Regions from separate parts of the Homo sapiens genome. Here all the other regions are linked to region 3. Evidence: promoter capture Hi-C in 16 types of primary human blood cells and fetal thymus (Javierre and others, 2016). All regions are on one chromosome and are shown on one strand. Each heading gives the region's core, a stretch centred on a gene start or on the middle of the fragment in contact. The rest is flanking DNA. Distances are from core to core; before and after follow the strand shown. Region 1 holds the start of SNX8 (sorting nexin 8). Region 2 overlaps MAD1L1 (mitotic arrest deficient 1 like 1). Region 3 holds the start of MAFK (MAF bZIP transcription factor K). Region 4 overlaps MAD1L1 (mitotic arrest deficient 1 like 1). Region 5 overlaps EIF3B (eukaryotic translation initiation factor 3 subunit B). Region 6 holds the start of EIF3B (eukaryotic translation initiation factor 3 subunit B). Region 7 overlaps CHST12 (carbohydrate sulfotransferase 12).

Region 1 (4,140 bases), core at 1,486-3,985, 780 kb after region 3:
CTGAAGACCCATTCTGAAAGGCCCTTCTTTCTAGACACAGTCTTCACATCGAGGATGCCCACCAAATGCAACAATCCCTCCCCTGCTCCCCGCTGCCGTTTCTCGCCGACGAAGAAACTGTCTACCAACCCTCCAGAGCTCACTTCAGTCATCACCTCCTCAGCGACACCTTGCCAGACCTCCCCACAAGGGGATTCCCCAATCTTGTCCCCCCCCACCAAGAAGAAACCGTAACTCACACCAACACCCACCTACATCTCTTCTCTGGCAGCTAGGACCACAGGAAGGAACATCCAGAAATAAGGGGCACCCTCCTGTATTCCTTCTAATGTTTAGCCTCGTTTGTTTTGTTTTGTTTTGTTTTTTTTGAGGCGGAGTCTCGCTCTGTCGCCCAGGCTGGAGTGCAGTGGCGCTATCTCGGCTCACTACAAGCTCTGCCTCCCGGGTTCACGCCATTCTCCTGCCTCAGCCTCCCGAGTAGCTGGGACTACAGGCGCCCGCCACCGCGCCTGGCTAATTTTTTTTGTATTTTTAGTAGAGACAGGGTTTCACCGTGTTAGCCAGGATGGTCTTGATCTCCTGACCTCGTGATCCGCCCGCCTCGGCCTCCCAAAGTGCTGAGATTACAAGCGTGAGCCACCGTGCCCAGCCATGTTTAGCCTCATTAACCCAAATCCCTTAAAGAGAAATACAAGAGGCCAGGCGCGGTGGCTCACGCCTGTAATCCCAGCACTCTGGGAAGCTGAGGTGGTTGGATCACCTGAGGTCAGGAGTTCGAGACCAGCCTGGCCAACATGGTGAAACTCCGTCTCTACTAAAAATACAAAATTTAGCCGAGTGTCATGGTGGATGCCTGTAATCCCAGCTACTCAGGAGGCTGAGGCAGGAGAATCGCTTGAACCCGGGAGGCGGAGGTTGCAATGAGCCGAGATCGCACCATTGCACTCCAGCCTGAGTGACAGTGAGAATCTGTCTCAAAAAAAAAAAAAAAAGAAAAGAAAAGAAAAAGAAAAAAGAAAAAGACAGAAATACAGGCCAGGCACGATGGCTCATGCCCGTACTCCCAGCACTTTGGGAGGCCAAGGCAGGAGGACCGCTTGAGGCCAGAAGCTCCAGACCAGCCTGGACAACATAGCAAGATCCCATCTCTACAAAAATAAAAAAAATTACCGGGCGTAACTGCACGCGCCCGTAGTCCCAGCACTTTGGGAGGCTAAGGCGGAGGATCACTTGAAAGAGAGAGAAAAGCAGCTACACATCTATAGATTCGGTTCACAGATGAGAAAACAGAGGTCCCGAGAGGTGAAATTACTGGCCCAAGACCACACAACCGACAGGAGCTTGGGAGAGAGGATGTGGCTAGGAAAGGCGCCCAAGTCCGGGGAAGTGGCCCCCAGTGCCATCGCTCAGCGTGACCAGGCAGGGCAGAAGAGCAGGGCACCAGGAACGGGGCGAGGAGGAAACTGTCCCCGAGGACGCCTCTGAGAGCCCCGGGAAAGCGCCTCGGAACGCGGCCAGCTGTAACCTGGACAGGGCTCTCCCGGCGCAGGAGGGCAGGGGACCCCGAGGGACGGAGGCGCGAGAGAGCACGGGGACCCCCAAAGGACAGGCGCGCAGGAGGGCAGGGGGACCTCCGAGGGACTGGGGCGTGGGGCCGAACGCGGGGCGCGGGGGCAGGAAACGAGTCGGGGACCAAGCGCGGCGGCTGAGCCCCGTCCGCCGGGGGTGGTCGGGCCGCGCGCCCTGGGCAGGTGGGGGCTACCGCCGCCCCACGCCCTACCTGACGCCGGGGGATCCGCCTCCTCGTCAGCCTCCGCCTCAGCTGCCGCCCCGACTGCAGCCGCGGGCAGCGGGTCCATCGCGCGGCCAGTCATGTGAGCCCGCGCTCCCACGTGACTTCCTCCCGCGCCACCCGGCCGCGCAGCCCTGCCGCGCCGCGCCCTCGCCCCGCCCACACCCCGCCTGGTCACGCCCCCTCCCCCGCGCGCCACGCCCACAGTCCGCCCCTGCGGGCCCGCCGCGCTCCTCGCCCGGCCTCGCCACGCCTACAACCCGCCTAGCCACGCCCACATGCCCCTCCCCGTCCACGTGGACACGGAGCCTGCTGGTGGCGCAGGTTACCTCCCCTCAGGTTGGACCTCCGGACTCGCAGGTGCACTACCTCAGGCGCAAGCCTGCACCCACCGCACCCTCATTCACTCCCATCTCTCCTCGCCCAGTCACGCCCTTGTTCGCTCATTCACCGGTTACACTGGGGTTTTCTGACTCGCACTTCCTCATTCATCCACTCACCCACTCATTCGCTCACCCACGCACTGCATCCTGCATTCATTCATTCACCCACTCACTCACTGCATCCTACATTCATTCATCCACTCACACACTCACTCACCGCATCCTGCATTCATCCAGCCACTCACTCACTCACTGCATCCTGCAATCATTCACCCACTCACTCACTGCATCCTGCATTCATTCATTCACCCACTCACTCACTGCATCCTGCATTCATTCATTCACCCACTCACTCACTGCATCCTACATTCATTCATCCACTCACACACTCACCGCATCCTGCATTCATCCAGCCACTCACTCACTGCATCCTGCATTCATTCATCCAGCCACTCACTCACTGCATCCTGCATTCATTCATTCACCCACTCACTCACTGCATCCTGCATTCATTCATTCACCCACTCACGCACTGCATCCTGCATTCATTCACCCACTCACCCACTCACTCACTGCATCCTGCATTCATTCATTCACCCACTCACCCACTCACTCTCTGCATCCTGCATTCACTCATTCACTCACTTATTGCATCCTGCATTCATTCACCCACTCACCCACTCACTCACTGCATCCTGCATTCATTCATCCACCCACTCACTCATGCACTGCATCCTGCATTCATTCATCCATTCACTCACTCACTCACTTACTGCTTCTTCATACGTTCATTCACCCACTCACTCACTGCATCCTGCATTCATTCATCCACCCACTCACTCATGCACTGCATCCTGCATTCATTCATCCATTCACTCACTCACTCACTTACTGCTTCTTCGTACATTCATTCACCCACTCACGCACTGCATCCTGCATTCATTCATTCACCAACCCACTCACTGCATTCTGCATTCATTCAGTCACTCACTCACTGCATCCTGCATTCATTCATTCACCCACTCACTCACTTACTGCATCCTACATTCATTCATTCACTCACTGCATCCTGCATTCATTCATTCACCCACTCACTCACTTACTGCATCCTGCATTCATTCACTCACTCACTAACTGCATCCTGCATTCATTCACTCACTCACTAACTGCATCCTGCATTCATTCATCCACCCACTCACTCACTCACTGCATCCTGCATTCATTCATCCACTCACTCACTCACTGCTTCTTCATACATTCATTCACCCACACTCACTGCATCCTGCATTCATTCACCCACTCACTCACCCACTCACTGCATCCTGCATTCATTCATCTACCCACCCACTCACTCATGCACTTCATCCTGCATTCATTCACCCACTCACTCACTCACTGCATCCTGCTTTCATTCACGCAACCACTCACTCACTGCACCCTGCATTCATTCACCCACTCACTCACTGCATCCTGCATTCACTCACCCACCCACTCACTCACTGCATCCTGCATTCATTCATTCACCCACTCACTCACTCTGCATCCTGAATTCATTCACACAACCACTCACTCACTCACTCACTGCATCCTGCATTCATTCACCCACCCACTCACTGCATCCTGCATTCATTCATTCACTCACTCACTCACTCATGCACTGCATCCTGCATTCATTCACGCAACCACTCACTCACTGCATCCTGCATTCATTCACCCACTTACTCACTGCATCCTGCATTCATTCACCCACTCACTCACTCACTGCATCCTGCATTCATTCATTCACCCACTCACTCACTCACGCACTGCATCCTGCATTCATTCACACAACCACTCACTCACTGCATCCTGCATTCATTCATTCATTCACCCACTCACTCACGCACTGCATCCTGCATTCATTCACACAACCACTCACTCACTGCATCCTGCATTCATTCATTCACCCACTCACTGAGTCACTGC
Region 2 (4,263 bases), core at 105-2,604, 670 kb after region 3:
TACCCAACCAGCATAGCATGGCTAATTGGGGAAAGAAGCTGGAAACACCCTAAGTGTCCATCAACAGGGGCTGCTGGAGTCTGAGTCCGTCTGCACTCCAGCACACCCTGCAGTTCTTTAAAGTAGTTCAGCAGACCAGCCTGCGCTGGGGCCAAAAAACTGTCAAAAACTGAGTGAAAACAGTTGCAGAATAAAACTGTGGAAGGAGCCCCAATTTTAAAAGGTGATGGGAGTACATAAAGAGCTTCTATGTACACACATTTCCAGAACGACACACAGGAAACTCATCAGGCATTGCCTAGAAAGACGAACCGGGGCCAAGCACAGCACGCCCTGCTGCCCACCTCCGGGGCAATCAGTTCTATTCTGGAACAGCCCCCCAGGAATACTGAGAACACAAGGTGACGATGGCTAGGAAGCTGTGACACAGGGCACCCAGCCCTGAGTGAGGTCACCAGGGAGGGCAGGAAAGGAAGAACACGTTCCACTTTTCATTCCATTCATTTGCATTTATGCAGCTTGTTCTGCTTTTCATCAAATGTGAAACTCCTTGACCCTCTGCAGCCTGCACTGACCCCACATGCTGCCACTCCTCACAGCACTCCTGTGACGTAACAAAGACCCAGGAGGTGCACGCAGCCGTGGCCGTAGGCCTTCCATAAACTCAGGGGATGGGTCCCTCCCCAAATGAAGGCTGGCTTAAACAGCACCCCCAGGCCACTCTCCAATTCAGTCCAAGTCGCCACTAAGGAATTTTCCTTCCCCTCACAGCTAATCCGAAGAGCTGACCGTCTGCTGTTGACAGGCCAGCTTGAGTGAGGTATGATCTGCGCACGTGAACAGTTTGACAAGAGCAGTGTCATGAGCTTTGCTGCGTGTACACCTGTGCGGCGATCACATCCATTACGCCAAAGGGTATTTCTAGCACCCCATAAGACCCCAATCATATCCCAGCACGAGACTCCAGGGATCACTGACCTGCTTTCTATCACTGTTGCTCAGTTTTACCTTTTTAAAAAGTTCAAATCAATGGGATGGTATAGTAAGTATAAACTCAGTAAGTCTGGCTTCCTTCACTCAGCAAGAGAGACCCTTTCATGTTTCCAAGCACCGCCGCTGCCGCGCATTACACTGCGTGGAGACGCCACGGTCCACGTATCCCTTCACCTGCTGACAGGCACCTGAGTTGTTCCTGCTCTCAGACTGTTAGAATAAGGCTCTACAAACATTCCTGTACAAGTCTTCATGAGACCACATTTTCTCTTGGGTTTCTCTTAGATTAAATACCGAGGAATGGAACTGCAGGGTCACACCGTAAGTGTGTACAAAGCTACCAAACCATTTCCAAAGTGGCCGTACCACTTGCTACTCCCAGGGGCAACAGGCCTGGCTGCTCTGCATCTCTGCCAGCAGTCAGGATGGTCAGTCTGCTTAATTTTAGCCATTTTATTGGGTGCCCAGTGGTATCTCACTGCAGTCTTGAAACCGCCTTTACAGAATTTTAAGTAACGAGAGAAATCTACATTACTGACTCCACCTTGCTTCTAACCTCACAGGATCTTTTCTTTTTTTTTTTTTTTTTTTTTTTGCTTATTCTAATACAGAGGCCAAGATAACTATGAGAGGAATGTAGTTTATAGTTAAACTTCAAGGCAAGGAAAAATGACACCCGTCCTTGTTTGGAGATTAAGACTGGCATTGCTACAGGGGCCTGAACTTTGCTAAAGAACAGGCACGGGTAAACCATGACCTGTCACTGCTTACTTAGCTTGCTCTTCTACAGTGCCTGCTACCCGGAGTCACGTAACCAGACGTTGTCAGATTCGGAACTTCCCTAACGGCTCCTACAGACATCACTGCTGTGAAACCTAAAAAACTGGTCTTTGGGATATTTTTCAGATTTAGCATTTCAGCAGATCAAGAGATGCCACCTGGACTTGTGACCCCATCTCCCAGGAACTGACTCAGCTGCACGGAGACAGTCCTGACACCCCTATCATTGCATCCCCAACACAACCAACCAGCATTCACCACTCCCTAGGCCGCTGCCCGCCAAAACACCCTCAAGCCCTCGCCTCCTAATTCTCAGGGAGACAGATGTGAGAGTTATCTCGCGTCCACCTCCCTCGGCTGGCTCTGCAATCATTAAACTCCCTCTCTGCTGCCACACCTGCCGTTCTCAGTGCATTGGCTTTCTGGGCAGCAAGAAGAACCCTGTTGGGCGATTACAGTCTTAATTTGCATTCCCCTAATAACTAACAATGTTGACCATCTTTTCATGTCCTTATTTACCACCTATATATCTTCTCTTGTAAAGTATCTGTTAAAAGCAGGCCGGGTACAGTGGCTCACACCTGTAATCCCAGTGCTTTGGGAGGCCAAGGCAGGCAGATCACCTGAGGTCAGGAGTTTGAGACTAGCCTGGCCAACATGGTGAAACCTGTCTCTATTAAAATACAAAAATTAGCCGGGTGTGGTGGTGCACGCCTGGAACCCCAGCTACTCAGGAGGCTGAGGCTGGAGGATTGCTTGAACCTGGGAGGCGGAGGTTGCAGTGAGCCAAGATCATGCCACTATACTCCAGCCTGGGCGACAGAGCAAGATTCCATCTCCAAAAAAATAAATAAATAATAAAGTATCTGTTAAAAGTCTTTTGACCATTTTTTAAACTATGGTAATCTTACTAATTTGTAAGAGTTCCTTCTCTATCCTGGAGCACATCTTTGGTCAGATACATGTTAATATCTCGCAAATATTTTCCTAGTCTATGGTCTGCCTTTTCACTGTATCTTTTGAGAGCAGAAGTTTTCAATTTTGATGAAGTCTAATTTATCAATTTTTTCATTTATGGTTCATGTTCGTTGTATTGTAAGACCTCTTTGCCAAACCCTAGCTTCCAGATTTTGTGACTTTTACACATAGGTCTATGCGTCATTTGAGTTAAATCTTGTGTCCAGCATGAGACAGGTGTTAAGGCTCATCCTCACCACGAAGAGCCTACTGGTTTACCACCCTCGGTGAAAAGATTCTTTCTCCCACTGAATTATCTGGACACTTTGACAACAATCAACACTGTATTCTTCAATCATTTCTGAACATTCTACTCTGTTCTCCTGATTTACATGTCTATACTTAATACCACAGTGTCTCAATTTATGCAATTTACAACGTGTCTTGAAATTGGCCAGTGTAAGCTGTATAACTTGTTCTTTTTTGAAACTGTTATGGCTATAACAATTTATAGGTACTTTACATTCCCATAGAAATTTTAGAAATTGTCAGCCGGGCACAGTGGCTCATGCCTGTAATCCCAGCACTTTGGGAGGCCAAGGCGGGTGGATCACTTGAGGTCAGGAGTTCAAGACCAGCCTGACCAACATGGCGAAACCCTGTCTCTACAAAAATACAAAAATTAGCCAAGCATGGTGGTCCATGCCTGTAGTCCCAGCTACTGGGGAGGCTGAGGCAGAATTGCTTGAACCCAGGAGGCAAAGGTTGCAGTAAGCCAAGATCGCACCATTGCACTCCAGCCTGGGCGACAGAGTAAGATTCCGTCTCAAAAAAAAAAAAAAAAAAGAAATTTTAGAGATCAGTTCATCAATTTCTGCTGGGGCTTTGATTGGGACTATGTTAAATATTTGGGTCAATTTGAGCAAACTGCCATCTTAACAATAATGAATCTTCCAATACACGACCACAGTACCTTTACGATACTCTGAAATATATATTTGGTCTTTCTGTTCCCTGACATACATGCAGCTCCTTATCTGGAGTGAGAAGAGTGTCTCTTGTGAACTAATGAGCTGAGTGCTGGTTGGCAGCCCCCAGGCAGCTTCAGATAGGGTGGTTATCCGAAACACCAAGGTGAGATTAGAGGGTTGGGACTTTGAGTCCCACCCCTCAACCTCCTAGGAGGGGAGAGGGGCCGAAGGGTGAGTTGATTTCCAACGGCCAATGGTGTAATCAATCATGCCTCTGTGATGAAGCCTCCATAAAAACCCACAAATAAGGCCAGGGTTCAGAGCTGCACACACAGAGGCTCCTGGAGGGTGGTGTGCCCAGAGAGGGCATGGAAGCTCCGCGCCTCTCCTCACACCTCACTCTGCCAACCTGTTCACCTGTATTATTCGTAACATCCTTTATAAGACATGACTAAACATAACAAAGCATCTTCCCGAGTTCTGTGAGCCACACTAGCCAATTAATGAAACCCAAGGAGTGGGTAGCAGGGGCCTCGTTTAACAGCCTGTCAGTCAGAAGTAC
Region 3 (3,785 bases), core at 899-3,398:
TTTTAAAAATTAGGCTGGATGCAGTGGCTCACGCCTGTAATCCCAGCACTTTGGGAGGCCAGGGCGGGTGGATCACCTGAGGTCAGGGGTTCGAGACCAGCCTGGCCAACATGGTGAAACCGTCTCTACGAAAAATACAAAAATCAGCCGGTGTGGTGGCGCACGCCTGTAATCCCAGCACTTTGGGAGGCCGAGGCAGGCAGATCACAAGGTCAAGAGATTGAGACCATCCTGGCTAACATGGTGAAACCCGTCTCTACTAAAAATACAAAAAAAAAAAAAATTAGCCGGGCGTGGTGGCAGGCATCTGTAGTCCCAGCTACTCAGGAGGCTGAGGCAGAAGAATTGTTTAAATCTGGGAGGCGGAGCTTGCAGTGATCCGAGATCGTGCTACTGCACTCCAGCCTGGCAACAGAGTGAGACTCCATCTCAAAACAGCAACAAGAACAAAAACAAAATTTAACCAGACGTGGTGGTGGGCACCTGTGATCCCAGCTACTCGAGGGGGCTGAGGCAGGAGAATCACTTGAACCTGGGAGGCGGAGGCTGCAGTGAGCCGAGATGGTGCCACTGCACTCCAGCCTGGACGACAGAGTGAGACTCCATCTCAGAAATAAATAAATACAAATTAAAAAATTAAAGAGATAATAAAAGTGTGTGATTAGTAACAAAAGCCTGCTATGGAAAGAATGCATTTGGGTTAGAGGAGCGACACCATGAGTAACGTAAAGAGTCCCGCGGAGATGGCCACAGCTTCTCTGGAGGCTCCCAGCGCATCCCAGGACCCCGAGTGCAGAGTGTGGGCCAGGACAAGGGAAGCACCTTTCCCATCCCCGGGGGATGTCTTTCTGCAAACATCCTGGGGACGTGGGACATTGTCGCTACTGCTGCTGTTGAGTTATTTCTTGGCACCTGTTTCTGCGGCCAGGTTGCAGGCATCACTGTGGCTAGCTGCCCCAGACGGCCGTGTGGGCCTTAGCAAGGAGGGGCCTCCCAGGTGGCCAGTGCAGAACCCGCAAGTGGGGGGGAGAGATGGCCCGGGAGGCTGCCCCCGCGCTCCACAGCAAGAGGCCACTGGGCTGCTGCCTAAATCCCCAGCCACATGGTGGTAAGGACGACACCCAGAAGATGCACAGACCTCCCTGCACTGGCTCCTGAGTCCCACCTGAGCCGAGAAAACAGGCTCCCGGGTCCCACCTGAGCTGAGAAAACAGGCTTCCCAGAACCCCGGGCAGATGCCATGGGTGTCCTGGGGGGCCCTCGGTTGCCCAGGCCTGAAACTCCTCTTCCTGCAGCGCTCAGAGGGGGGCGGGACTTGGGGACCCAGAAGCGTGGCAAGGGGCTCCAGACGGATCCCCTCTCCAGCCTGTCCTCCACCTGTGACAGGAAGCAGAGGCAGCTCCCTCAGGGGCCCGCCCCCACCTGAGGATCCCTCACAGGACTCCTTGGGCCAGTGGTGCCCTAACCCCATCCTGGGCCTGCTGTGTCCCCTGGCAACCACCAGCTGGGGCTTTAGAAGGGGGCTGGCCCCACCCACAGAGGCTGTGATCACTAGCCGCTTATCCCCATTTTTACATTGCTGGTTTGCTTGTTTTGTTTTTTTGAGACAGGGTCTCACCTTGTCACCCAGGCTAGAGTGCAGTGATGAAATCATGGCAGCCTCCACCTTCCAGGTTCAAGCCATCCTCCTGCCTCAGCCTCCTGAATATCTGGGGCCGCAGGCACATACCACCACGCCCGACTAATTTTTGTAATTTTTTTGTAGAGATGGGGGTCTCACTGTGTTGTCCAGGCTGGTCTGGAACTCCTGGGCTCAAGCGATCCTCCTGCTTTGGCCTCCCAAAGTGCTGGGATTACAGGCATGAGCCACCGTTCCCAGCTGGCCTTAATGTTTTTTATGTTTATAGAGACAGAGAATGGGGGAAGGGAGGTTTCGCTATGTTGCCCAGGCTGGTCTTGAACTCCCGGCCTCCAGAGATCTTCCCGCAGGGCCTCCCAAAGCGCGGGGATTGCAGGTGCGCGCGGGGCCAGCGGCCCCCCGGGCGGGAGAGGAGGGCGTGGCCGGGGGGCGTGGCCGCGGGGCGGGGAGGGGGCGTGGCCCGGGGGGCAGGGCGGTGTGACGCGCGCGCCGCGGATCCCGGAAGCGGTGTCAGATGCTGGGGAGCCGGGCGGGCGGGTGCGGTGGCGGCGGGCGGCGCGGGGGCACTTGTTGTTCTTCGCGAAGTCGGAGCCCGAGCGCCAGGCGGCGGCGGCGGCCGAGGGGAGCGCGACAGTGAGCGCCGGCGCGAGGACAGCGCGTGCCCGCGAGGAGCCGCCGCGCGCCCGCGCCCTCCGCGCGACGCCAGGTGAGGGGCGGTGGGGCAGCGGGGCCCGGGCCGCGGCGGGGACGGGGACCGGGGCGCGGGGCCGGGGCTACCTGGCCGCTGAGTCACGGCCGCCTGGGGGCGCGGGCCGAGGGTGGCGGGGTTGGGTGCGCGGGGCCCGAGACCCTCATGCGGCCCGCGGCGCGGCCCGGGCACCTGCCCAGGTGGGCCCCGCCCCGCAGGCCCGGGGGCTTCCCCGGGACGCGAGGCTCTCTCCCCTGCACGTGCCGCCCGGGCCATGCTTGCCGCGCCGGGGGCCCCAGGGCGCGGACCCCAGACCTGGGAGGACGAGGATCCACGCGGGTCGGCGGCGCGCATCGGGCCCGCGCCTTCACACCTGCGGGGGGCGGGGCGGGGCGGGCGCCACGTGCGGGCGGTGCGGGGAGGGCGCGGGCGCGTGGATTCTCCGCGGCTTCCGCCCCAGCGTGGCTTCCGCGTGCGGCCCCGGACTGCCCCCCGCGCTTCCTCCCGGTGACGGGCGGCGCTCTGGCCCAGTGGCTGGGGTCACGCGTGCCCGGGAACGGGGTGGGGGTAACCGGGTCTCCCCACAGGCGGGATCCTGGGACTGGTGTCGCTCTCAGCCGCCCACCTGCCAGGGTTGCTGGAAGGAAGGCCGTGGGGAGGCGGGAGGGGGGCAGGTGACAGTGGCCCCAAGGCTCGTCCCTTTGCTCACGTGTGGGGCAGGGGCTCCGGCCTCTTCCCGCTCCCACTGCGTGAGTTCTTCTGTGCCTCTGTCAAGTTCAGGAAACTGTGTATGTGCCCGTGACTGTGTGTGTCTGCGTCTGCACAGCCTCTAGATCCTGGGGGGTGGGACCAGGCGCCACCGAGAAACCCAGAAAGCCAGGACCCCGCCTGGCCTTGGCCCTTGACCTGGGTCCGCCTGGGACACAGCAGTGGCCCTGCACTGCATTCTCGCGCTCACACCGTGTGTGTCCGTGTTCGCGGGGCCTCCCGTGTCCCTCTCCTGGTGTCCTGCGTCCCTGAGCATGCTGTTTTCTTGCTTCTTAAGTAGCTCTTGTAGCTGAGGCAGAAATTAGATCCACTCACCATTCATTCACCAGGTGACCCACAGGCAGCCAGCCAATCTCTGGCCAGGTGCCTGGCCTTGGGAAGATCCTGAGACTCAAAACGCCCCCCACCGCCCCCCATCGTGGTCTAGGGGATATCTGTGTGGTTCGGCTCTGGCAGCGCCCTTCCCACCCCTCTGATTCTCCAGGGTGGGCTGCCAGGTCTCTTTACTGGCACTGAGGTTTCACCGTCACGGTGTGTTGTTGTAAGGGGTTCTCCAACACAGAGTGGGGTGCCCTATGCAGCTTCTCCAAACCCAATGTCTTCAGGGACATGGAGCATTAAAAGAGCCGTGGGCGGGGTCTGGAGAACATAGGTGGGCTGTGCAGGTGTCTGGGACACACCTACACCCTA
Region 4 (3,766 bases), core at 473-2,972, 660 kb after region 3:
ACTTTAATTCTGTACTGTTTGAGCTTTCTTTGTAGTGAGGATGGATTTACATTATCCTGTACAATATTTTTGAAAAGCATGTCACAGAGCTGTAGGATCACATGTGAGTCCAACTTGTGAGCCTCTTCTCGCCTTGAGGGACTAAGCGCTAGGACAACAGTTCACTAAGTGTGGTCTGCAGACACCATTCTAGGCAGTCTTGTAACATCAAAACTATTTTCTTTTTCTTTTTTTTTTTTTTTCTCTGAGACGGACTCTCGCTCTGTCCCCCACGCTGGAGTGCAGTGGCACAATCTCAGCTCACTGCAAGCTCCACCTACCAGGTTCAAGTGATTCTCCTGCCTCAGCCTCCCCAGTAGCTGGGATTACAGGCATGCGCCACCACGCCCGGCGAATTTTTTATTTTTAGTAGAGACGAGGTTTCGCCATGTTGGCCAGGCTGATCTTGAACTCCCAACCTCAGGTGATCTGCCCACCTTGGCCTCCCAAAGTGCTGGGACTACAGGCGTGAGTCACTGTGCCTGGCCATCAAAACTATTTTCATAATAATACTAAGTGGATCACTTGAGGTCAGGAGTTCGAGACCAGCCTGGCCAACATGACAAAACCTCATCTCTACCAAAAAATACAAAAATTAGCCAGGCATGGTGGCGTACACCTGTGGTCCCAGCTACTGGGGAGGCTGAGGTGGGAGAATCACTTGAATCCAGAAGGTTGAGGTTGCAGTGAACCAAGATCATGCCACTGTACTCAAGCCTGGGTGACACAGCAAGACTCTGTCTCCAAAAAAACAAGGAATAATAATAATAAGCTATTATTTGCCTTTTTTCTTCTAACTGTGCTGACATTTGAACTGAAGATACAAAAGCACTGATGGGTATAACACGTTAGCAAAACAAACCAGGGGCACCACGTGGGGTCTCGCTATGCTGCCCAGGCTGGACTGCAATGGCTACTGACAGGCACAATCACAGCTCCCAACAGCCACAAACTCCTGGGCCCAAGCCATCCTCCCACCTCAACTTTCCGAGCAGCTGGAACTACAGGAGTACTGGGCCCAGTTAAAATATTCACTTCATTAAATCTTAACCCCTTGATAAGATCTCAACATTCTGTGTGAAGAAATAGAAAGCACATGTAAGACATTTCTGGTGCATACTAAAGTGCGATGGTTGGTCTTCCATGTTTGAGTTGTGAACTGAACTAGCCCTTTTTATGTAAAATATTTTACTTAAAAACTAACTGACCAACAATAGTTACTCAGGCTTGAGCATCTGGTAGACATTTTCTCAAAAACGAATTAAATAAACGTTATCATTTGAAAGAATACAACCACGAGTATTTGTTGACAATAATAAAACTCAAGCTGCCAAACACATATCTAAATTCTTAAAAATTTGTATCTACCACCACAAGCTTGATGGATTCCTAACGTTTAAAGACTTTTCAATAACTTGTGGTGATTAGCTTGTAATTTCTTTAATAAGGCATAATAAAAGACCTACATAATTCAGTGCGTCGATATTTTCAAATGAGCAATGTATGATGTTACATAACCATGCATGGATAAAGGTCCATTCAAAGTGCAAGAGACCAATGAATTTTAGTACGACAGTTTGAAAAGATTATTCCGTACCACAACTAACCTTCCAGAAACCACTACGTGTGGAACACTTGCTGTTAAGATGTCAACACCGCCCAAAGCCATCTAGACGTTCAATGCAATCCCTATCAAGACCTAACTAAATATTTTGCAGACATAGGAAAATCTATCCTAAAATTCATATGGAATCTCAAGGGACCCAAAGGTCCCTCGCCAAAGCAATCTTGAAAAGTTAGAACAAAGTTGAAAGAGTCACACTTTAAGTCAAAACTTACTACAAAGCCACAGTAATCAAAACAGTGTGGTGCTGACAGAATGACAGGCATATGGACCCATGAAATACAGTAGAGATCCCAGAAATAAACACTTTCGTATGCTCAAATAATTTTTGACAAAGGTGCCAAAACCATTCAATGAGGAATGGACAAGCTTTTCAACACATGGTGCTGGAAAACTGGTCTCCACATGCAAAAGAATGAAGTTGGGCCCTTAAACCATACACAAAAAATTAACCCAAAACAAATCAAAGACCTAAATGTAAGACCTAAAACTATAAAACTCTTAGAAAAAAACAGGGGAGAAGGTTTATGACATGGGATTTGGCACAGATTTCTTGGATATGACATCAAAGGCACAGATAACAGCAAAAAAAAAATAGACAAATGAAATCTTGGTAAATTTTTAAATTTTAAATTTGTCAAAGGACACTATCAACAGACTGAAAACACAACCTATAGAATGGGAGAAAATGTTTGGAAACCGTATCTGTAAGAGAAAAATATTCAAAACATACAAGGGAACTCCTAAAACAACAATGAAAATAACGCGATTCAAGAACAGGCGAAGAACCTGCATAGACATTTTTCCAAAGAAGACACACAACTGGCCAAGGAGCACATGGAACGGTGCTCCACACCACTAATCATTAGGGAAATGCATATCAAAGCCAGAACAAGACACCACCTCACACTCATTAGGATGGCTACCACCAAAAAAAAAATCACATCACATGGTGATGATGTGGAGAAACTGGAACTCCTGTGCACTGCTGATGAGAACGTAAAATGGTACAGCCACTGTGGAAAGCAATGTAGTGGCTCCTAAAATAGTTAAAAGTTGAACCACAGGATCCAGCAGGTTGAAAGCAGGGGCTCTAAGAGATATCTGCCCGCTCGTGTTCAGAGCAGCATTATTCACAGTAGCTACAATGTGGAAGCAACCTAAGTGTCCATCAACAGGTGACTGGATAAGAAGAACGGATCGTCTATCCATACAACAGAATATTACTCAGCCTTAGAAAGAAAGGACATTTTGGCACATGCCACAACATGGATGATCCCTGAGGACATTATGTTAAGTGAAATAAGCCAGTCACATAAGGACAAATATTTCATGATTCTCCTTCTATGAGGTCCCTACTGTAGTAAAAAATCACAGAGGCAGGAAGCAGAATGGTGGGTCCTAGAGCCAACGGGGGAGCACAGGGAGCGAGCGTTTAATGGGTACAGAGTTTGGCTTTGGGAAGATAAAGTTTTGGAGGTGGATGGTGGTGATGGTTGCACAGCAATATGAATGTTCTTAAAGCTACTGAACTGTACACTTAAAAACAGTTAACAGTCAATTTTATTGTATATGTATTTGACCCAATACAACAAATCGGGGAAAAGAAAAGCATCCTCCTCAACCTGATGAACAGTATCTCGCAAGACCCTAAAACTAACCTCATGCTTCAGGAAAATCTAAACGCTTTCCCTCTAAGGCTGACAAGGCCAGGACAGCCATTCTCACCATGCCCAGGTAAAACTGCACTGGAGGTCCCAGTGAGTGCACTAAGGCAAGAAAAAATAAACGAAATAAAAAGTAAATGGGGGGAAAGAAAACAAACTGAAAGCTAAATCTAAAATTTATCTGAAAATAAAAAAACTAAAATAGCCAAGACAATTCTTACAAAGAAAAAGCTGGAGGGCTTACTATGTTCTTTCAAAGAGTATTAGGAAGTGACAGTAATTACGACCTTACCATACTGGAGAAAGGACAGACACATGATTCAATGAAAGAAGACCTCGAGCAAAGGCCCATGAATGTATGGCTGACAGGCTTTCATCAGAGGTGCCAAGGAAATTCAAATGGGAAACAGACATACGTATTGTGGGGCAGGAAAGC
Region 5 (3,822 bases), core at 837-3,336, 840 kb after region 3:
CCTGAGCTCTGAAGTGGCCACCGTATTGTTTGGAGGGTGTTAATGGATTTTTTTTTTTTTTTTTTTTTTTTTTTTTTGAGATGGAGTCTCACTCTGTCACCAGGCTGTAGTGCAGGAGTGCGATTTCGGCTCACTGCAGTCTCTGCCTCCTGGTTTCAAATGATTCTTCTGCCTCAGCTTCCCAAGTAGCTGGGACTATAGGCGTCCACCACCACGCTTGGCTAATTTTTGTATTTTTATTAGAGACAGGGTTTCACCATGTTGGCCAGGCTGGTCTTGAACTCCTGACCTTAGGTGATCTGCCCGCCTTGGCCACCCAAAGGGCTGGGATTACAGGCGTGAGCCACCGTGCCTGGCTGAGAATATTATTTTCTTTCTAAGCACAAGGAGTAGTATACTCAAGATTTATTTTTTTATTTTTTTATTTTTGGTGGTTGATCATTTAATATTTATTTTATCAAAAAATTGCCTGAGTTGGCTGGGTGTAGTGGCCCATGCCTGTAATCCCAGCACTTTGGGAGGCCGAGGTGGGCGGATCATGAGGTCAAGAGATTGAGACCATTCTGGCCAACGTGGTGTGAAACCCCATCTCTACTAAAAGTACAATAATTAGCTGGGCGTGGTGGGAGGCTCCTGTAGTCCCAGCTACTCGGGAGGCTGAGGCAGGAGAATCGCTTGAACCCAGGAGGCAGAGCTTGCAGTGAACAGAGCGAGATTGCGCCACTGCACCCCAGCCTGGCGACAGAGCCAGACTGCGTCTCACAAAAAAAAAGAAATTCCTGAGTTTTCCCTCTAATAGAAGTATTCTTCTTTCTTTTATGTTAAGAAAGCTTTAATTGACATGTAGTTCACATGCCTGAAAACACCCCTTTAGAGTGGTGAACTGGTTCAGTGGTTTTTCGTGTGTTCAGAGTTATGCAGCCACCACCACTCATTTCAGAACGTTTTCATCGGCTGGGTGCGGTGGCTCCCCCGGGGTGGGAGGGAGGATAGCTTGAGGCTAGGAGTTTCAGACCAGCCTGGGAAACACAGTGAGACCCCATCTCCACAGATAATTTTTAAAAGATAGGAAAAAGGCCGGGCACGGTGGCTCACGCCTGTAATCCCAGCACTTTGGGAGGCTGAGGCGGGGCATCACAAGGTCAGGAGATCGAGGGTTTAGTAGAAACCCCGTCTCTACTAAAAATGCAAAAAATTAGCCAGGCGTGGTGGCGGGTGCCTGTAGTCCCAGCTACTCGGGAGGCTGAGGCAGGAGAATGGCGTGAACCCGGGAGGCGGAGCTTGCAGTGAGCCGAGATTGCACCACTGCACTCCAGCCTGGGCAACAGAGTGAGACTCCGTCTCAAAAATAAATAAATAAATAAATGTTTTTGTCACCCTACAAAGAAACAACATACCTGTTAGCAGCCTCTCCGCCCAGCTCCTGGCATCACGAATGTCTATGATTTCCCTATTCTGAACACACAGCTGGAATCGGATACTATGCCACCTTCTGTGTTTGACCTCCTTCACGGAGCACAGCGTTCCCACAGCTGGTCCACGGTGCTGAGTGTCAGCAGTAATCTCTTGTTGGGTGGACCCCGTTTCTTGGCCTCCTTCCTCTGTTGATGGACATCAGGGCAGTTTTCCCTCAGACTCCTCGAGTAGGGCAGGACTTCTTGAAGGTTATGGCTACAGGACACCCCACTGTCTGAAGTGGTTTACCCAGCCCCATTGGTGTGCCTTTAGGGCCCTCAGGACCCTGGCCTGCAGCCTGCAGTGTGGACCCTGGGACTGCTTGTGCCCAAGTGTGGCGGGCAGGGCGGCTCCTGGAGGTGGGATCTGGGTCAGAGTTACTTCATGCATGTCCAGTGGCTTCCAGTAGACGTGGTGCCGGCAGTTCTCCAGCCTTAGAACCGTCTTCCATCCTGAGGGCTGTGGCTTTCATCACTGCACATGCTCGTGTGTGAACCAGGCATGCACACTGAATCTTTCATTGTGACGTTGATCTTTGATTTAAACCTTTTCTCATATTTTCACTGTCCAGAATGTCACCCCTTCCCCCTTTTTTTTAAACAGGGTGTTGTCACAAATTTTGAAATTTTCCGAATGAGGGAGAAACAGGTACCTGTGGATGTGGTCGAGATGAAAGGCAAGTTGTATTTTAGTCACTTTGAGGCGAATGGGGCCTACGTGCTGTTTTACTCTTGGCTTTAACACTTCCATGCGAGGGGTTGTCTGAGCAGCTGAGTCAGGACTGTGAGCCCTCACCATGAATAGTCATCTCCAGGTCACAGAACGTGTTTAGAGCCTGGGCAACATAGTGAGACCCTCTCTGTACAAAAAACAAATAAAAAAAATTAGCCAGGTGTGGTGGTGCGCACCGATAGTCCCAGCTGTTTGAGACGCTGAAGCGGGAGGATCACTTGAGCCCAGGAGCAGAGGTTGCAGTGAACTGAGATTGCGCCCCTGCACTCCAGCCTGGGTGACGGAGCAAGACCCTGTCTAAAAAAAAGAGAAAAGAGATTGAGCCTGTGTTCTTGTTTGGCTTTTTGTTTTGCCATGGAGAAAAGGAGGAAGGAAGGGTTAAAAATAGGTGAGAAAATGGGAAACATGGCCGCCCTTCCAGGCAGGGAGACCGGAGGTCAGGATCCCACTGTAGGTGCACACTGGGTGCGAGGGAAGCGGCATCCACAGCTGCTGACAATGTCGGGCTCCTGCGGTCCTGCTGTGGGTGTCCTGCTCTCAGGAAGGGAGCAGTTTCACGTAGGTCACTCCACACAAGTGGAAGCAGCTGTCTCTGAAACTCCAGGAATGTGCACCTTTCCTGCTGTTGCTTGCTCTCCCGTCCTTTTAATGAACTTTTACACGTCGGGGGATATTTCTCTGTGGTTGAATAGTGAACATTTTAACTGATCAAGAGCACTATGTTCTGAATTGACCAAAAAGGGAGGGGTCTGTTTTGTGCATTTTAGAAACCATCATAGCCTTTGCCTGGGAACCAAATGGAAGTAAGTTTGCTGTGCTGCACGGAGAGGCTCCGCGGATATCTGTGTCTTTCTACCACGTCAAAAACAACGGGAAGATTGAACTCATCAGTAAGTAACCTGGTCCCTTTCCTCTTCTGAGTAGGTCAGCACAGATGATGACCCAGTCGCTGCCCAACAGTGAGCATTTGACTGGCCTAGGACCACTGCTGGGCAGGCCGGGACTCGCCTATGAATGGGGTGTGGCCTCGGCTGATGGAAGTGAGCGATGGCCTGGAGGTGCCGCCTCCTTGCAGGGTGTCTCTCTGAGCCCCGTTGAGCCCTCACGTTTAAGCGAGTATTTCCAAGGCTTCCATTCTCTGCCATCATCTCAAGTGAAGCTTTTTCTCTTCTGGCTGTAGCTGCTGTCCCTGGGCTTGGGGTCACTTCCTGTGGACATACTCCTGCCAGTCCCCAGTCTGGGTCAGGTGCCTTTGACCAGGGTGCGCAGAGCTGTTGCACACAGCTGTACTCTGCCCCCGTGCACCCGGTTCCAGGGGTGCCACACTGCACCCACCTGGGGCTCGCTCCTCACAGTGGTGCGTGGGCCCTCGCCTGTCTCACGGCACCTGCTGCCTGTGCCCTCAGCTCCTCACTTCATCCTGGGGTCTCTGCTCAGCACAGAGCCCGGTGCCCGCGGGGATTGAATGAGCCATTGCTTGTTGCTTCATAGGCGTGGGGTGTGTGTGTGTGGTAGCCAGGAGGTGGCGATGGGCTGTGTTCCTCACACAGGACTCTGGCTGCCAGCTGCCCTCCTGCAGAGCCATGGGTTTGGCTCTGTACCAGGAAGGGGTTGGAATCTCCTGGCCGCACCTTT
Region 6 (3,747 bases), core at 764-3,263, 820 kb after region 3:
CGACAGAGCAACACTCCGTCTAAATAAAAAAAAAAAAAATTGTCATCCCTTATTGTACAGATGCGGAAACTGAGGTGGAGGCATTAAGTGACCTGCCCAAAGATACACCACTGACAGCATGATGAGGAGTAGTCAAACCTGGTACTAGGCATGGGAAGACTCTGCTTCTTTTTCGCTCTTTTAAACACCGTTAGGATGGGATGGGTGTGGTGGCTCATGCCTATAGTCCCGGCACTTTGGGAAGCTGAGGGAGGAAGACTGCTTGAGGCCAGGAGTTTGAGACCAGCCTGGGCAACACAGTGAGATGCTATCTACAAATAAAGAAATTAGCTGGGCACGGTGGCACATACCTTCAGTCCCAAGTACTTGGCAATGTACTTAATGTCACTGAACTGTACACTAAATTGCATATTAAAATGGCTAGGCCCTGCGCGGTGGTTCACGCTTGTAATCCTGGCACTTTGGGAGGCTGAGGTGGGAGGATTCTCTTGAGGCTGGAAGGTCCCGATTGCAGCGGCGCTGTGATTATGCCACCGCACTCTAGCCTGGGCAACAGAGCGAGACCCTATCTCTGAAAACAAACAAAACAAAAAAACTATAGGATGAAATATACATAAAATTTACCTTTTTGGCATTTTATTTTATTTTTTCGAAGACAGGGTCTCGCTATGTTGCCCTGACTGGTCTTGAACTCTTGGGCTCAAGTGATCCTCCTGTCTTGGCCTCCCAAAGTACTGGGAAGAGAGGTGTGAGCCACCGCGCAGGGCCTAGCCATTTTAATATGAAGTTTAGTATACAGTTCAGTGGCATCAAGTACATTCACCATGTTGTACCATCACCACCGTCATCTCCAAAACGTTCTCATCCTCCCAAATTGAAGGTCCGTCCCCGATAAACACTCCCCACTCTCCACCCCAGCCTCTGGGTACCACCTGTTTTATTTATTTATTTAATTTTCGTAGAGATGAGGGCTGGCGTGCGGGGGGTGGTGGTGCTATGTTGGCAAGGCTGGTCTCCAACTCCTAAGCTCAAGCGATCTTCCCACCTCAGCCTCCCAAAGTGCTGGGATAACAGGCGTGATCCACTGGGTTGTTTTCTAGGATGATTAAGACATCCCCCAACCAGTGGTTGTCCTCCACTCCGGCAAAAAACAAGATAGAAGCCACATGCACCCAATGCCCGTCCCGTGAGCACCCGCGCAGAGCGAACCGCTCCGGTCCCTCCGGAGTCAGCCTCGAGCTCCACGCGGCGAGGACCCGCCCCCGCCCCCACGTGACCCGCGCTGTCCCGCGCTGAAGGCGGCGGCCTCGGATGGACTGAACCACTGTGAAAGCCCGAATGGGGGGAAACAGGCAGTGACGGCCGCTAGGGAAGGACTGGGGGTAAGCGATTAAAGAAACTTCCATACATTTTTGTATCGCGCCAGGCAGTCGTCCTTCTAGTCGTGTGGGCCCTCTCTGGCTCGCCCCGAATTCCTTTTCTATTTTGAAGTAGTCTGTCCTTTTGCTCAGTCAGTAGGCGAGTCCAAGTGACAGACACGGACAGGGGGGACTTTAGTAACGTAAACTAAACGGTTTCCCTAGCGAAAGGCTCAGACGCCCTGAGCAATCGCCTGTTGAGTCTCCACTCTTCCAGGGTATTAACTGTTGAGTTAGAGGACATTTTCCTAGCATTCCGGGTACTAAAATCATTTCTTGTCCCCGCCTTCAGCTCCACAAATAGTTCAGTCCCGCCCCGCAGCGTCCGACGGGAAAGGAAAGGGGGAGGACGCCATGTTGGACGGAACCATCTGCTGCCACACATGGGGTGGTCAATGCTCCCATGAGTTTACTGATGCACAGAAACAACCTTGCTGAATGGAATTAAGCACTTTCTTGTCACAAATATATCAGTTTGATGATTTTCGGGCGCGGTCTTGTGGATGCGAGTCCTCTCAGGGTCGTTCGTGAGGCCCCAGGGCGTGGGTGCGCCCCCCGCCCCGCGGCCTTGGTGCGGCCTCCCCGTCGCACGCACATGGCTGGGCTGTAGCCGTCGCGGCGCGCGGTGCGGCCTGGGAGAGTCGGAAGCGCGGCGGCCGCGGAGCCCTGCGAGTAGGCAGCGTTGGGCCCATGCAGGACGCGGAGAACGTGGCGGTGCCCGAGGCGGCCGAGGAGCGCGCCGAGCCCGGCCAGCAGCAGCCGGCCGCCGAGCCGCCGCCAGCCGAGGGGCTGCTGCGGCCCGCGGGGCCCGGCGCTCCGGAGGCCGCGGGGACCGAGGCCTCCAGTGAGGAGGTGGGGATCGCGGAGGCCGGGCCGGAGTCCGAGGTGAGGACCGAGCCGGCGGCCGAGGCAGAGGCGGCCTCCGGCCCGTCCGAGTCGCCCTCGCCGCCGGCCGCCGAGGAGCTGCCCGGGTCGCATGCTGAGCCCCCTGTCCCGGCACAGGGCGAGGCCCCAGGAGAGCAGGCTCGGGACGAGCGCTCCGACAGCCGGGCCCAGGCGGTGTCCGAGGACGCGGGAGGAAACGAGGGCAGAGCGGCCGAGGCCGAACCCCGGGCGCTGGAGAACGGCGACGCGGACGAGCCCTCCTTCAGCGACCCCGAGGACTTCGTGGACGACGTGAGCGAGGAAGGTGAGGGCGCCCGGGGCGGGGCTGGCGAGCGGCGCGGGAGCGTGGCTGGGGTTCCCGAGGTGGGAGATATCGTCGGGCTGTGCCACCGGTTCGTGCAGAAGTTCCAGCGAGGGTGTCCGTGTGTTCCTGAGAAGCCACCGAGGGAGGGGTTCCCGAGTGCCCTGGAAGTGTTCTGAGAGCCCAGCGCCTCCCCTTTTCTTTCCTGAAAAAGGGGACAGGGTGGAGCTCACTTCGGGAGCCAGGCATTTGCATGACAACCAGAAATCTGAGAGGGTGGGAGAGGGCACATGGGGTACTCCGTTATGGCTGGGTGTGCTGTGAGTGTAGCAGCTGGGGGTACGGCAAAAACCGAAGACCCGGTGGCAGGTTTGCGGGTCTACGTGTCCCCAGAGCTGACCAGTCAGACCTCCCAAGGTCTGGATCGGAGGAACAGCTTGTGGCAGAGCCGGTGATTTTGTCCTCCTGCCCCTCAGAATTGTCCATCTCCAGAGACTTCCTTAGTGGGACAGGCACCCTGTGAAATTCCAGTTTGATTTTTCTTTATCTCTTGCGCTAAATCTATAAAGAGAGTTATTTTTCCAGGTTTTAATATTGCCGATAACAGCCAGCTTTGCCTTCATCTCAACCTTGATTGGATTTACAGGCATATTTTTGCTTCCTGTCTCAGAGATTTTTTCCTGAAGCTACTTCTGATGAGAGCTGGTCTCATTTGTTTTTCTTTTGTTTTTTAGCTCTCTTAAGCCTTTAAGTTGGGAACACATCAGCCTCTGCAGATTGGCTAAGTTGATACTAGAGTGAGAAAAATAAAAATACCCTTGCTGATGTAGCCAGCGATACACCAGGACAATTTCGGGAATAACATGGAGTTGCCAATTTATGATTTAAACGTATTTTTAAAAGGCTATCAGAGGGCCGGGCTGGGTGGCTCACGCCTGTAATCCCAGCACTTTGGGAGGCCGAGACGGGTGGATCACGAGGTCACCATCCTGGCTAACACGGTGAAACCCCGTCTCTACTAAAAATAAAAAAAAATTAGCCGGGCGTGGTGGCGGGCACCTGGATTTCCCAGCTACTCTGGAGGCTGAGGCAGGAGAATGGTGTGAACCTGGGAGGCGGAGCTTGCAGTGAGCCGAGATCCTG
Region 7 (3,946 bases), core at 142-2,641, 890 kb after region 3:
CACTGCACTCAAGTCTGAATGATAGAGTGGAACCCTGTCTCCAAAAAAAAAAAAAAAAAAAAAATGGCTGGGCATAGTGGCTTACGCCTGTAATCCCAGCACTTTGAGAGGCCAAGGCAGGTGGATTCCCTGAGGTCAGGAGTCCGAGACCAGCCTGGCCAACATGGTGAAGCCCCGTCTCTACTAAAAATACAAAAATTAGCCAGGCATGGTGGTGGGAGCCTGTAATCCCAGCTACTTAGGAGGCTGAGGCAGGAGAATCGCTTGAACCCGGGAAGCAGAGGTTGCAGTGAGCTGAGATTGTGCAACTGCACTCAAGCCTAGGCAACAAGAGCAAAACTCCGTCTCAAAAAAAAAAAAAAAAAATTACCATTGTAACCATTTTTAAGCATGCAGTTTGGTGGTGTTAAGCACGTTCACATCACTCTGCAGCAATCACCACCCTCCAGCCCCAGAACTATGTTCATCTTGTAAAACTAAAGCTCTGTCCCCATTGAACACAAACTCCCATCCCCCTCCCCTGCCCCCACAACCACCATTCTACTTTCTGTCTCTAGGAATTTAACTGCCCTGGGAACCTCATACAAGTAGAATCTTGAAATATTTGTCTTTTTTTTTTTTTTTTTTTTTTTGAGATGGAGTCTCGCTCTGTTGCCCAGGCTGGAGTGCAGTGGCACGATCTCACCTCACTGTAAGCTCTGCCTCCCGGGTTCATGCCATTCTCCTGCCTCAGCCTCCAGAGTAGCTGAGACTACAGGCGCCCGTCAGCATGCCCGGCTAATTTTTTGTATTTTTAGTAGAGACGGGGTTTCACCGTGTTAGCCAGGATGGTCTTGATCTCCTGACCTCGTGATCTGCCCGCCTCGGCTTCCCAAAGTGCTGGGATTACAGGTGTGAGCCGCCACACCGGCCAAGTATTTGTCCTTTTGTTTCTGGCTTATTTCACTGAGCATAATGTCTTCAGGGTTCATCCATGTTGTAGCATGTGTCAGAATTTCCTTTCTTTTGAAGGCTGAGTAATATTCTACTACATGGGTTGACCACAGTTTGCTTGTCTGTTCATCTGTCGCGAACACTTGGGTTCCTTCCACCTTTTGGCTATTGTGAATGATGCTGACATCAGTGTGGACATGGGTGTGCAAGCATCTCTTCAAGACCCTGCTCTAAGTTGAGTGCAGTGGCTCATGCCTGTCATCCCAGCACTTTGGGGGGCCAAGGTGGAAGGATCACTTGAGGCCAGGAATTCAAGACCACCCTGACAACATAGCAAGATGCCATCTCTACAAAAAATTAGCTGGGCATGGTGGCAACCACCTATAGTCTCAGCTACTCAGGAGGCTGCTTGAGCCCAGGAGTTCAAGGCTGCAGTGAGGTTTGATGGCACCACTGCACCCCAGCCTGGACAACACAGTGAGACCCTGTCTCAGGAAAAGAACAACAACCTTGCTTTCAGTTATTTTGGGTGTATACACAGAAGTGGAATTGCTGTATCATATGGCAATTTTATTTTATTATTATTTTTTAAGACGGAGTCTCACTGTGTCACCAAGTCTGGAATACAGTGGTACAATCTCAGCTCACTGCAACCTCTGCCTCCTGGGTTCAAGCAATTCTGCCTCAGCCTCCTTGAGTAGCTGGGATTACAGGCGTGAGTCACTGCACCTGGCCCCTCATATGGTAATTTTATATGATAATTCTGTGTTAATTTTTTTTTTTGAGACAGAGTCTCACTCTGTTCCCCAGGCTGGAGTGCAGTGGTGCCATCACAGCTCACTGCAACCTCCATCTCCTGGGCTCAAGCGATCCTCTTGCCTCAGCCTCCTGAGTAGCTGGGACTGTAAGTGCACACCACCATGTCCTGCTAATTCTTTTTTTTTTTTTTTTTTTTTTTACATTTTTTTTGTAGAGAAGGGTCTTGGTATGTTGCCCAGGCTGGGATGCAGTGGCAACATCATAGCTCACTGCAGCCTCAAACTCTTGGGCTCAAGCAATCCTCTCACCTCAGCCTCCTAAGTAGCTGAGACTACAGGCACACACTACCATGCCTGGCTAGTTTTTTAGTTTGGTTTTTTTTTTTACTTTTTTTTTTTTTTTTGAGACGGAGTCTCGCTCTGTTGCCCAGGCTAGAGTGCGGTGACGCGATCTTGGCTCACTGCAACTTCCACCTGCCAGGTTCAAATGGTCCTTCCATCTCAGCCTCTCAAGAAACTGGGATTACAAGTGTACACCACCATGCCAGGCTAATTTTTTTATTTTTAGTAGAGACAGGGTTTTGCCATGTTGGCCAGGCTGTCCTCAAACTCCTGAGCTCAAGTGATCTGCCCACCTCAGCCTCCCAAAGTGCCAGGATTACAGGCATGAGCTACTGCGCCCAGCCTTTTTAAACATTTTTTATAGAGATAGGGTCTTGCTATGTTGCCCAGGCTGGTCTTAAACTCCTGGGCAGTTCTCCCGCCTCAGCCTCCCAAAGTGCTGGGATTACAGGCATGAGCCACCATAGCTGGCCCTAAAAGATATTATTAATACTTAGTTATAATCCTAAAATATTTTCCTTGTAATTAAACTGAAATCTTATTAAATTATCCATGAAAAGTCATAGGTTTTATAAAATGATGTAGTCACTGGCATTGGTTGTATATATGTAATGCTTCTTGGCTGAAAAATAAGCAGAAGTGCTTAGGTTGGCTCAGTAACGCCCTTATCTAGTTCTTAGGTACAGAATTCGTGGACGGCGGCAGCATCCCTGGCCTCTGGCGTCTGCCTATGTCGGCGATGTGACTGACTCCCCTGCAGCTTCACTCTCCTCGTTAGTCTTCATCTTAATTGGCAACTTCCCTCTCAAGTTGTTTGTCATGTTAACTTTTCCCCTTTGCTACTTTCTTTTTCTTTCTTTTTTTTTTTTGAGAGGGAGTTTCCCTCTTGTGGCCCAGGCTGGAGTGCAGTGGCGCCATCTCGGCTCACTGCAACCTCCGCCTCCCAGGTTCAAGCGATTCTCCTGCCTCAGCCTCCCGAGTAGCTGGGATTACAGGCATGTGCCACCATGCCCGGCTTATTTTGTATTTTTAGTAGAGACAGGGTTTCTCCGTTATTGGTCAGGCTGGTCTCGAACTCCTGACCTCAGGTGATCCACCCGCCTCGGCCTCCCAAGGTTCTGGGATTACAGGCGTGAGCCACTGCGCCCTGCCTCTTTTTTTTTAGATGGAGTCTTGTTCCGTCACCAGGCTGGAGTGCAGTGGTGCGATCTCAGCTCACTGCAAACTGCGACTCCCGGGTTCAAGCGATTCTCCTGCCTCAGCCTCCCCAGTAGCTGGGACTACAGGCACACACCACCACACCCAGCTAATTTTTGTATTTTTAGTAGAGACAGGGTTTCACCGTGTTGGCCAGACTGGTCTCGATCTCTTGACTTTGTGATCCACCTGCCTCGGCTTCCCAAAGTGCTGGGATTACAGGAGAGAGCCACTGCGTGCAGCCCTGCTTTGCTGCTTTCTTAGCCTTCAGAAAACCTTTTTTTTTTTTTTTTTAGTGTGGTTTCATTCACTGTCATCTGAAGAAACTGTTGATTGTTACACATCCTCGAGAGGGGTGGTCCTGAAAACTTGAACAGCACAGGTACTTAGGATCTAGTTTTAAAAATAGGCTGCAGTGGCTCACGCCTGTCATTCCAGCACTTTGGGAGGCTGAGGCACTTGGATCACTCGAGGCCAGGAGTTAGAGACCAGCCTGGCCAACATGGAGAAAGCCCCTCTCTACTAAAAATCCAAAAATTAGCCGGGCATGGTGCGTGCCTGTGGTCCCAGCTATTTGGGAGGCTGAGGCATGAGAATCCCTTGAACCTGGGAGGTGGAGGCTGTGGTGAGCCAAGGTCACACCACTGTAGTCCCGCCTGGGTGACAGAACAAGACTCCATCTCAAAAAAAATAAAAAAAAGTAGAAAAATAGGCTG

The links. Contacts are between HindIII fragments. The CHiCAGO score rates a contact against its expected background, and 5 or more counts as called.
Region 1: a contact is called between a fragment that was not itself captured here and the fragment with the promoter of MAFK in region 3, in 1 of 17 cell types (monocytes). The highest score is 5.6, in monocytes.
Region 2: a contact is called between a fragment that was not itself captured here and the fragment with the promoter of MAFK in region 3, in 1 of 17 cell types (M1 macrophages). The highest score is 5.1, in M1 macrophages.
Region 4: a fragment that was not itself captured here is called in contact with the fragment with the promoter of MAFK in region 3 in 1 of 17 cell types (fetal thymus); the score reaches 5.1 in fetal thymus.
Region 5: a fragment that was not itself captured here is called in contact with the fragment with the promoter of MAFK in region 3 in 4 of 17 cell types (activated CD4 T cells, naive CD8 T cells, total CD4 T cells and 1 more); the score reaches 6.4 in activated CD4 T cells.
Region 6: the fragment with the promoter of EIF3B here is called in contact with the fragment with the promoter of MAFK in region 3 in 11 of 17 cell types (total CD8 T cells, naive CD8 T cells, monocytes and 8 more); the score reaches 11.9 in total CD8 T cells.
Region 7: a contact is called between a fragment that was not itself captured here and the fragment with the promoter of MAFK in region 3, in 2 of 17 cell types (total B cells and total CD4 T cells). The highest score is 5.5, in total B cells.

What each region holds. Positions count from the first base shown.
Region 1 is chr7:2,312,548-2,316,687 of GRCh38, forward strand. It overlaps SNX8 (sorting nexin 8), which reads right to left and starts at 1,894. Exons shown (of 11, transcript NM_013321.4): 1 at 1,781-1,894. The coding sequence starts at 1,874. RefSeq lists enhancers at 4-83, 124-253, 1,998-2,498, 2,499-2,999 and silencers at 1,570-1,809, 1,910-2,179. The HindIII fragment of the contact is 8,361 bases long and covers 1-4,140 here.
Region 2 is chr7:2,203,520-2,207,782 of GRCh38, forward strand. All of the region lies in intron 10 of MAD1L1 (mitotic arrest deficient 1 like 1), which reads right to left. It overlaps LOC105375126 (a long non-coding RNA gene), which reads left to right. Exons shown (of 3, transcript XR_001745062.3): 2 at 772-820; 3 at 1,605-1,681. Among named protein-coding and RNA genes, the nearest start is that of MAD1L1, 27 kb to the right of the region's middle. RefSeq lists an enhancer at 1-150. The HindIII fragment of the contact is 6,485 bases long and covers 1-4,263 here.
Region 3 is chr7:1,528,554-1,532,338 of GRCh38, forward strand. MAFK (MAF bZIP transcription factor K) reads left to right here and starts at 2,149. Exons shown (of 3, transcript NM_002360.4): 1 at 2,149-2,345. RefSeq lists silencers at 1,979-2,248, 2,739-2,868. The HindIII fragment of the contact is 17,285 bases long and covers 1-3,785 here.
Region 4 is chr7:2,186,566-2,190,331 of GRCh38, forward strand. All of the region lies in intron 10 of MAD1L1 (mitotic arrest deficient 1 like 1), which reads right to left. Among named protein-coding and RNA genes, the nearest start is that of MAD1L1, 44 kb to the right of the region's middle. The HindIII fragment of the contact is 616 bases long and covers 1,415-2,030 here.
Region 5 is chr7:2,369,719-2,373,540 of GRCh38, forward strand. EIF3B (eukaryotic translation initiation factor 3 subunit B) reads left to right here. Exons shown (of 19, transcript NM_001037283.2): 11 at 2,059-2,131; 12 at 2,955-3,077. Among named protein-coding and RNA genes, the nearest start is that of EIF3B, 17 kb to the left of the region's middle. The HindIII fragment of the contact is 2,516 bases long and covers 829-3,344 here.
Region 6 is chr7:2,352,814-2,356,560 of GRCh38, forward strand. It overlaps EIF3B (eukaryotic translation initiation factor 3 subunit B), which reads left to right and starts at 2,014. Exons shown (of 19, transcript NM_001037283.2): 1 at 2,014-2,607. The coding sequence starts at 2,109. It also overlaps a transcript of SNX8 not described here. RefSeq lists enhancers at 805-1,360, 1,031-1,100 and silencers at 1,901-2,040, 2,221-2,310, 2,361-2,470. The HindIII fragment of the contact is 9,918 bases long and covers 1-3,747 here.
Region 7 is chr7:2,419,360-2,423,305 of GRCh38, forward strand. The region is part of intron 1 of CHST12 (carbohydrate sulfotransferase 12); the gene reads left to right. Among named protein-coding and RNA genes, the nearest start is that of CHST12, 18 kb to the left of the region's middle. The HindIII fragment of the contact is 7,524 bases long and covers 1-3,946 here.